Linked DNA regions of Homo sapiens: all the other regions are linked to region 1. Evidence: promoter capture Hi-C in 16 types of primary human blood cells and fetal thymus (Javierre and others, 2016). All regions are on one chromosome and are shown on one strand. Each heading gives the region's core, a stretch centred on a gene start or on the middle of the fragment in contact. The rest is flanking DNA. Distances are from core to core; before and after follow the strand shown. Region 1 holds the start of CETN2 (centrin 2). Region 2 overlaps MTMR1 (myotubularin related protein 1). Region 3 overlaps MTMR1 (myotubularin related protein 1).

Region 1 (2,871 bases), core at 137-2,636:
GCTGGCACATGAGGTTCAACCACAAAGCCAGTGTTCTGGGGCTGGAGTGAGCCAGACGAGAGAAGAGTTGTGGAGCGATGGAAGGGGACACGTCGTGCCAAGCTTTGGAGATCACAGTGAGAACTCTGGCTCGTACTACTTGGGGGGATGATGATGACCCAAAAGTCAGGAATCTGTTCACTGCTGAAGAGAGAAGAGGGCAAAGGGCAGCAGCTCCATTTAAAAGGTTCTAATAAGCCTCGGGCCTTTCTCTGTCTGAGAAACTTACTCTCTGCCCTCTGTCTCCCTAGATTACTGCCCCTATGCCTGGAGGAAAAACAGGTGAAGGCTAAAAGCCACGGGGATAGCTAAAGAGGGCAAACTGGACCTCCAGCTCCACTTCTGCAGGTCTATGTCAGTCCACAGCCCTTGCACACGCTCCCTTTTAATTCTCCAAGCATACCTCTCACTTCCAAAACTCCTGTGACTCTGCTGATGAGGGCGTCTCGGCCTGGAATGCTCCTCCTTATCTGCATTGTGTGGGTGTCAAAAAGAGTATATTTTGATGACCTCTCCCCGCCCCTCATGCTCGCTCACATCCCCCTCACTCCTTTCAAAGTCCGTTCCCAAAGGCCCCAGTTCACCGTCCTGGGCTGCTTTTAGCCAGGTAAGATCTAAAGTGATCCTCTCTTGGAACCTGGTCTGGGGCCTATACATCTGGGTCAGTCTAGGGGTGCTCTCGAAGGGCCACCCTCAAAGAGCGAGCCTCGGCTGGATTCAGTTCCTAGGTCCCAGCCGTCCGACCTCTGCGACAACACTCAGCACACCCCTTCCCCTCTCCGGGTCTCAGTTGCCCCGTGAGTACAGTCCCTGCTCCAACACGCAAGGTAATCGTTTCTGGCTGCTCTGATGCACTCGGTCCCTAAACTCAGCCTTAGGTCAACCCAGAAAGCACCCGACCCGGGCGACCCCGTAGCTCCCCACCCTCCCGCACTGCCCAGTCGCTGACACAGGGTGACCTCCAATGGCAAGGCCACGACTCTTACCCGTCCGTAGGCGCCCCCCTGTCTGGCCTCAGCTCGCAAGCAGGCTGCACCCACTGAACTCCAGGCCCGGACCGCCACCCTTTACTCCCCTCCCGCGTGAGCCGAGAATCAGCCGAGCTTCCTCCACCAAGAGGATTGGCCCAGCTCGGCGACGACTCAGCCAATTGGCGCTCACGGCGTGATCTTGCCCAATAAAGACGGGGCTCTGTCGCCAGCGTGCCCCTCCCCGCGCTGGGCCGGGGCTTTGCCAGGTTAGTCCCACCCTCTTCGGCCCTGCACCAATAGGGAGAGGCGGCGACGAGCGGACGGCCAATGGGGAGCGGGGCTGCGCGCGCGGGGCGGTGGGAACGGCGCCGAGTCAGTGTACACGTCGGTTGCCTAACAACCGGCAGCGGACTCCTTTGGCTATGGTGAGTGCTGCCGCTCTGTCGCGCCCCACGCCCAGCGGCTGAGCCCTTCCCAGGCCCCAGCTCGGCCACGCCGCCTCTCCTGCGCCTTTCTCGGCTTTAGCGCACCAGTCTTTCCTTTGAGCTCTTTCCCGGGAGAGTAGGGTACAGACGCTAACCAACCTACTGGGCCTGCGCTTCGCTGCTGCCTCCTCTTCACCCACAACAGGCCCACACCCGCCCCTCGGGCTCCCCTTGCATTCCCTGATCCCCTCGGTGAACCTCCCTGGGCAAAAAAGACTCGAATCCCTCACAGGCCCCTGACTCTCTCAGACCTTGGCCCCCTGGCCTCCTCATTCTGCCAAAATTTCCACACACAGCTGGGAAAAGGTGTATCGTGTTCTGTTACAATGTTTTTTACAATTTAAATACAGGGGCATTCAGGGGATGCTTTAGCTTCTTGGAGAAGGCACGAAGGTGCCAGATGGATTGAGTTTTATTACTCGGTACTGACACAATATACATCTTAACAACTTACTAATATTTGGCCAAATCTAGAAGTAATTGGGAAGTCGGAGTACTTACTGGGAAGGGGAGTACTGGGAGTGGGCATCGTAAGACTGTTTTCAGAACCAGGATCCCCACGTTCGGGAAGAGCTGATTATCTCTAGTTATTCACAGTCATCTTCTTGACTGGCTCTCTTTTGGGATGATTTTCAGTAAGAGGTGTCCTTACTGAACAAGTGATCTCCCTGCTTCTAGAAACAACAGTAAAGAAAAGGGAGGGGTAGAAGTTCATGGAAAGATTCATTGTTCTTGCCAGTAAACCCTGTTATCTTTCTTTTTAAGCAAAGCTTTGGAATTGGTTATATAAATGACTTTAAAAATACATATGGGTGTCTGTAACTATGTTATGTAAATATGGACTGTATGATATATTATTGTGCTTGTGTATTGCATAACATATAAAGGCCTCCAACTTTAAGAAGGCAAACATGGCATCAAGTTCTCAGCGAAAAAGAATGAGCCCTAAGCCTGAGCTTACTGAAGAGCAAAAGCAGGAGATCCGGGAAGCTTTTGATCTTTTCGATGCGGATGGAACTGGCACCATAGATGTTAAAGAACTGAAGGCAAGCTCTGTGCATTCCTGCCGTACTGCCCTTCCTTTCCTCTGCCTCTTCCTTGTCATCTCCCTATCACCTCTCTACCCCTTTTGCCCTCTTCTCCCTGCAGTAAGTAACAGGGGAGGTTGTACTGTGCTGTTTTCCTGTCTTTACTTACTTTGAGTATTATTCAATAAAATTGATTGCAAATATCAATTAGATCAATGTCATAGTGTTCCCCAATCATATTAACATGACCACATCAGATGCTGGCTTAATGCTCTCAACACTGTTATTTTTGCTCCTGCTACTTTAGATGTGCTTATTGAGACGATCCTGTTTTCTTTATAGGTGGCA
Region 2 (2,871 bases), core at 138-2,637, 2.1 Mb after region 1:
CAAAGCCAAGGGGTCTCACCAACTTGCCATCGTGCCTCTCAGGCCAGTTGGAATATACGGAGGGTTTGTGGTCTGGGAAACAGCCAAGCAGAGATGTCAACCATACAATGGGATAGAAATCCAGTCTCAACCTTAGGAGGGATCAGGACAGGAGAGAAACTGCAGTGTCAAGCTCAAGTTGAACTCAGCATACAGACAGTGTTTAAAGCCGTGTCATCAGAGATGGCCCCAGGAGTCTGTGTAGAGCAAAGAGGACCCCAGACCAAGTTCGAGGAGCAATGCCATTTGAAGACTGGGAAGAGAAATCAGTGAAGGAGATGGAGAAGGCCAGGCTGAAGAGCGAGAGAAACTCAGGGTGTGATATCATGAAAGTCATGGGAACGGAGGTGTTTTTAACCATGTCTCACTGCCACCCGAGGTACACTACACAGGTGCTCCATGAGATTTATGGAAACTTTGTACATTTACACATTTCACATGGCTGATTCCATTCTAAAAGAAATTCAGACCAGACATGAATTAATCAACTAACCACTATATTCCTTAAACGGACTTCCAAGGACCTCACGATCATTTCATTAAAATGCTAAATCCTTTAGATGATAATTGTCTTTCTAGGTCTTTACTTAATTGATTTAGCAGACAGGATATTGTAGAGAAGCAATGAAACAGACAAGATCCCAACCCATGTGAGACACCAAACACAGCCCAAGGAGCATACACCAGGGAGGAATAGCTATGGGACTCCAAATGATTCTAACTTCAGGTGGTGAGGAAATCAATGAGTTATTCCAACTGCATAATGATTTACAGACAGGACATGAAAATATCCAGTGTTTCTGCAGTGCTATTAAGAATATACCTTGTTGGTATCAGCGACACTGTTTTGTCGAGCATCAAAGATGATAAGCTTGTGTGACTGTGCGTTAGCATCCATTATTGTTTGCAAGTATTTTTCATCCTCTTTGCAGCGCTTATCATTGGGACCCACAAGTGGCTGGCTGCAACGGGTAATCGTTGCTTGACTTTCCGGATGAATCCATGACAACACCTAGTGTTTTTAAGCAATAAATATTAGTACAGTTCCTAAAGAATGTATGCTCTAATTACCTGGTAGGAAAAACAAGTTCCCTTCTCAAGCACGGTCTCTTATACATATTTTCTTCAAAAGTGAGAGTGGGCAGGCCAATCACAGCATTGTAGTGGCCATCAGACTCAATGTTTTGGTCAGGATGAAACAATTCTGACTACATGAGCTCTAAAAATCCCCTTCCATCCCCAATATTCTATGATTCTAAGAAAAACAAATCCTAAATCAAACTATTACTAAAATCTAGCCCCATTCCAATTTGATTGACTAATTTTACCTTGTCTCCTAATTTTAAAAACATCTTTGTATCTCAACAATAATATACGTGGCAGGGTAAGGACAAAGTGAATATACAGTCTCTTATAAAATCTGACACTCTGCCACCCCACCTCTCATTTTCCTCCAGTGGCCAAGTGACTCAGGATTACAACAGATGCAAACTCTGGGCTCAAACCATTACTCCCAGCTGTCTGCTACTACTTCTGTAATGATGTCCCTCCCACGCAGCTATGGCATCATGCTCAGTATCTAAGAAAGAAGCATTTTCTCTAGGATGATTCAGTGAAACCAGCAATGCCAACTGGTAATACAATAGCATGATAACTTGTTGTTGCTACTCCTTTGTCATTCTCTACTACTTTTTGAGGGTATGACTGAAGTTCCCCTTATACTTAGTTATAGGAAATCGTAAAAGAGGGAGTCATAGCAAACAGATTGTTTATATAATTAGGTATTTGTTGAGAATCAAAGGTATGTTCAGGTTTATAAGCTTATTTTTCTGCTTTCCATTTTTGTTCACTAGTTTCTTTTTTGTCTTAAATCTCTCCATATTAGATCTAACGCAATATATATTCCTATATAAATGACAATGTTTATTACTTACAGGGACTCTGCCTTTTGCTCGAAAAGCTGCCACTTTTGAAAGGTCATCATCTTTTACACTAGTTGGCACAACAATGATGGCAGGGTAGGTGTCACAGAACTCATAATTACTGTTTATTTTGGATATTTTCCAACTCTCATTTGGCAAGCCCTGTAAGGTGTTGGAGAAAGAAGAAGAGGGTGAAATGCATGACTTTACACTTTGAAAAAGTACTAAGCATGAAGTACATCCATTTCTTATTTGCAACTAAAATCCGTTTATAATTTATTGTTTATTGTAACTTAAAAGTCAATATATATATTTATTCGGTAAAACCCATTTCCTAGACATTTCTAAAAATCTAAAGAAGCATAAGAATATCCAAACCATACTAAAACATGAAAATTATACGCTAGAATCACATTTCTATATATTTCTTGTCCTATTTTCTATAAATAATGAGCTCTGTTATTTTTGAGAATATACTCAAAAGTCCTTTAGAAACACAGATACCTCTTACGAATGTCTAAAATAAGTAACGTAAAACATTATACCAAATATAAGGTAGAGACAACGTCATGAAACAAACGTCATGAAAATAAGATCTTAGTGGAATAATTTGAAGCTGACAATGCACTGAAGAGTTCCCAGACCCGGGAACACTGGATCAGACAGATGTAGTCACACCACATGCTTCGAATCTAACTGTAGTCAGTGGTTTGGATCCTTACTCATCAATTCTTTACCAGAACATCTAATAAAAACCATCTGGCAAATTTGGTTTTTAAACCCGTCCTTGTCCTTGAGTCCCACTCACCCTCTGGAAACAGGATGAACAAACATGACAAAGTCTAAGGTTTGGCACAGGGAGAAGAGAGAATCAAGGAAAGATGGAGAACCTATAAGCTAGCAGTTAAAC
Region 3 (2,871 bases), core at 244-2,743, 2.1 Mb after region 1:
GTGTCTATGGAAAGGCAGAGTGAGAACTTTCTAACAACCACAGGATGATAGGACCCACCAATAACAAATATAATTTTGAATTCTGGTGTAAGGTTTGCTTTTGTAGGCTGGGCACAGTAGCTCAAGCCTATAAGGCCAGCACTTTGGGAGGCCACATTGCGAGGACTGCTTGAGGCAGGAGTTTGAGACTAGCCTGGGCAACACAGTGAGACTTTGTCTCTACAAAAAAAATAAATTTAAAGATTAGCCAAGTATAGTCCCAGCTCCTCAGGAGGCTGAGGTGGCAGAATTGCTTGAGGCCAGGAGTTTGAGGCTGTAGTGAGCTATGATTGTGCCGCTGTACTCCAGCCTGGGCAATAGAGCAAGACCCTGCCTCTAAAAGAAAATAGAGCTTTTGTGACTCCTTTTTTTTTTTTTTTTTTTGAGATGGAGTCTCACTCTGTCACCCAGGCTGGAGTGCAGTGGCATGATCTCAGCTCACTGCAATGTCTGCCTCCCGGGTTCAAGCAATTTTCCTGCCTCAGCCTCCCGAGTAGCTGGGGACTACAGGCGCACGCCACCATGCCCGGCTAATTTTTGTATTTTTTGGCGGAGATGGGGATTCACTGTGTTGCCCAGGCTGGTTTCGAACTCTTGACCTCAAGTGATCCTCCCACCTCGGCCTCCCAGAGTGCTGGGATTACAGGCATGAGCCACCTCACCTGGCTGTGACTCTTAATATTGAGAAATGAGAATAGATTTTACAGTTAAGGTTCCTTGTGCTGGAAAATCATAGCTATCTGGAGGACAATGTGCTGTGGTGCAGGCTGGAGAAGCTCTATAAAGACAAGTAAATATATCACTAAGTTATCTCTTCTTCCCCTAATTTTGTAGTACACTATTCAGAAACACTGTACCTACTTGCATTGCTCATCTGAACAAAAACACCCAAATGTGCAGGCATGGTGAGGCAGGTAAACGTTAAACAATGGATCAAGCACAATGACAAAGTCAAATGAGAAAACGGCAAGGCCAACAGCATTTTCTCCCACTCTGCTGCTGACTTCCCATGAGCTATCTAAATACAGGAACATTCAATTAGGACCATTTCAATTTGTATACATTTATTTATTTATAAGAGAAACACCAACAAAAATTCAAAGGATCTGGAATAGCTAAAATAATCCTGAAAAAGAACAAAGTAGGAGGACTCATACTTCCCATTTTCAAAACTTACCACAAAGCTACAGTAATCAATGCCAGCAGTGCTGGCGTAAGGACAGACATGCAGATCAATGGAACAGAATAGAAAGCACAGAAATGAACTCTCTGACATTTACGGTCAACTGATCTTCAACAAGGTTGGCAAGAAAATTGAATGAGGGAAAGAAAATCTTTCCAACAAATGGTGCTGGGACAGCTAGATAGCCAACACACAAAAGAATGAAGTTGGATCCTTAATTCACACCGTATACAAACGTTACCTCAGAACAGATCACAGACCTAAATGTAAGACCTAAAAGTATAAAGCTCTTAGAAGAAAACAGGAGCAAATCTTCATGACTTTGGGTTAAGCAATGGTTTCTTAGATATGATACCAAAAGTGTAAGCAGCAAGAGAAAAAATAGATAAATTGCAGTTCATCAAAATTAAAAACTTTTGTGCTTCAAAGAACACCATGAAGAAAGTAAAAAAAAACAACCCCTAGAGTGGGAGAAAATTTTTGCAAATCATGTATCTTATAAGGGACTTGAATATATAAAGAATGTATAAGGAACTCTTACAACTCCATAATAAAAAGGACAAACACCACAATTTTAAAATGAACTAAGGAGCTGAATACACATTCTCCACAGAAGATATGCAAATGGCCAATAAGCACATGGAAATATGCTCAACATCATTAGTCGTTGGGGAAATGCAAATCTAAAACCACAACATACCACTTCCCACTCACTAGGATGGCTATAATTTTTTTAAAAAGGAAAATAGTAAGCGTTGGTGAAATGTGGAGAAATTGGAAGCCTCAGACATTGCTCGTGTGTGCAACTGCTTTGGAAAACAATCTGGCAGTTCCTCAATAGGTTAAACATAATTGCCACATGACCCGGCAATTCCACTCGTAGGTATAAATGAATGAAGGCGTATGTCCACATAAAAACCTGTACATGAATAGTTATAGTAGCATTATTCCTAAAAACCAAAATGTGGAAACAATCCAAATTTCTATCAACCAATGAATGGATAAACAAAATGTGGTCTATCCATATAACGGAATATTGCTCAGCCATAAAAAGGATGTATTGGTGCATAGATGAACCTTGAAAACATTACGCTAAGCAAAGGAAGACAGTCATATAAGTTCACCTATTGTATAATTCCATTTCTATGAAATGTCCAGAATTGGCAAATCCGTAGAGACAGAAAGCAGATTGATGGTTGCTAGGGGATAGGGGTGGGGGAAATGGGAAGTGATTGCTACCAAGTATGCCATTTCTTTTGGGGGTGACAGAAATTTTATAAACTTAGGCCAGGCACAGTGGCTTACACCTATAATCCCAGCACTTTGGGAGGCCGAGGCGGGAACATCACTTGAGGCCAGGAGTTTGAGACCAGCCTGGGCAACACAGCAAGACCCCAATCGCTACAAAAAATAGAAATAAAGAGATTTTATGAAATTAAATATTGATGATGGCTGCACAATATGTGAATATGCTAGAACCATGAAATTGTACATTTTAGATGGGTGAATTTTATGGTATGTAAATTATGTGTCAAGAGAGCTCATTTTTTTAAGAATGAATTTTGCACTCCCCCTCTCAAAAAAAAAAAAAAAAAAAAAAAACAAGATAAAGCCATGGTTAAAATTCTATATATGAACTTCATTCTTCT

The links. Contacts are between HindIII fragments. The CHiCAGO score rates a contact against its expected background, and 5 or more counts as called.
Region 2: a contact is called between a fragment that was not itself captured here and the fragment with the promoter of CETN2 in region 1, in 2 of 17 cell types (M0 macrophages and M2 macrophages). The highest score is 6.5, in M0 macrophages.
Region 3: a fragment that was not itself captured here is called in contact with the fragment with the promoter of CETN2 in region 1 in 1 of 17 cell types (M0 macrophages); the score reaches 5.1 in M0 macrophages.

Annotation. Positions count from the first base shown.
Region 1 is chrX:152,829,272-152,832,142 of GRCh38, reverse strand. CETN2 (centrin 2) reads left to right here and starts at 1,386. Exons shown (of 5, transcript NM_004344.3): 1 at 1,386-1,435; 2 at 2,383-2,541; 3 at 2,866-2,871. The coding sequence starts at 1,433. It overlaps NSDHL (NAD(P) dependent 3-beta-hydroxysteroid dehydrogenase NSDHL), which reads right to left and starts at 1,080. Exons shown (of 8, transcript NM_015922.3): 1 at 1,026-1,080. RefSeq lists a silencer at 1,147-1,486. The HindIII fragment of the contact is 2,163 bases long and covers 105-2,267 here.
Region 2 is chrX:150,730,722-150,733,592 of GRCh38, reverse strand. It overlaps MTMR1 (myotubularin related protein 1), which reads right to left. Exons shown (of 16, transcript NM_001306144.3): 9 at 1,974-2,123; 10 at 863-1,051. Among named protein-coding and RNA genes, the nearest start is that of MTMR1, 39 kb to the right of the region's middle. The HindIII fragment of the contact is 949 bases long and covers 913-1,861 here.
Region 3 is chrX:150,752,578-150,755,448 of GRCh38, reverse strand. All of the region lies in intron 14 of MTMR1 (myotubularin related protein 1), which reads right to left. Among named protein-coding and RNA genes, the nearest start is that of MTMR1, 61 kb to the right of the region's middle. The HindIII fragment of the contact is 6,912 bases long and covers 1-2,871 here.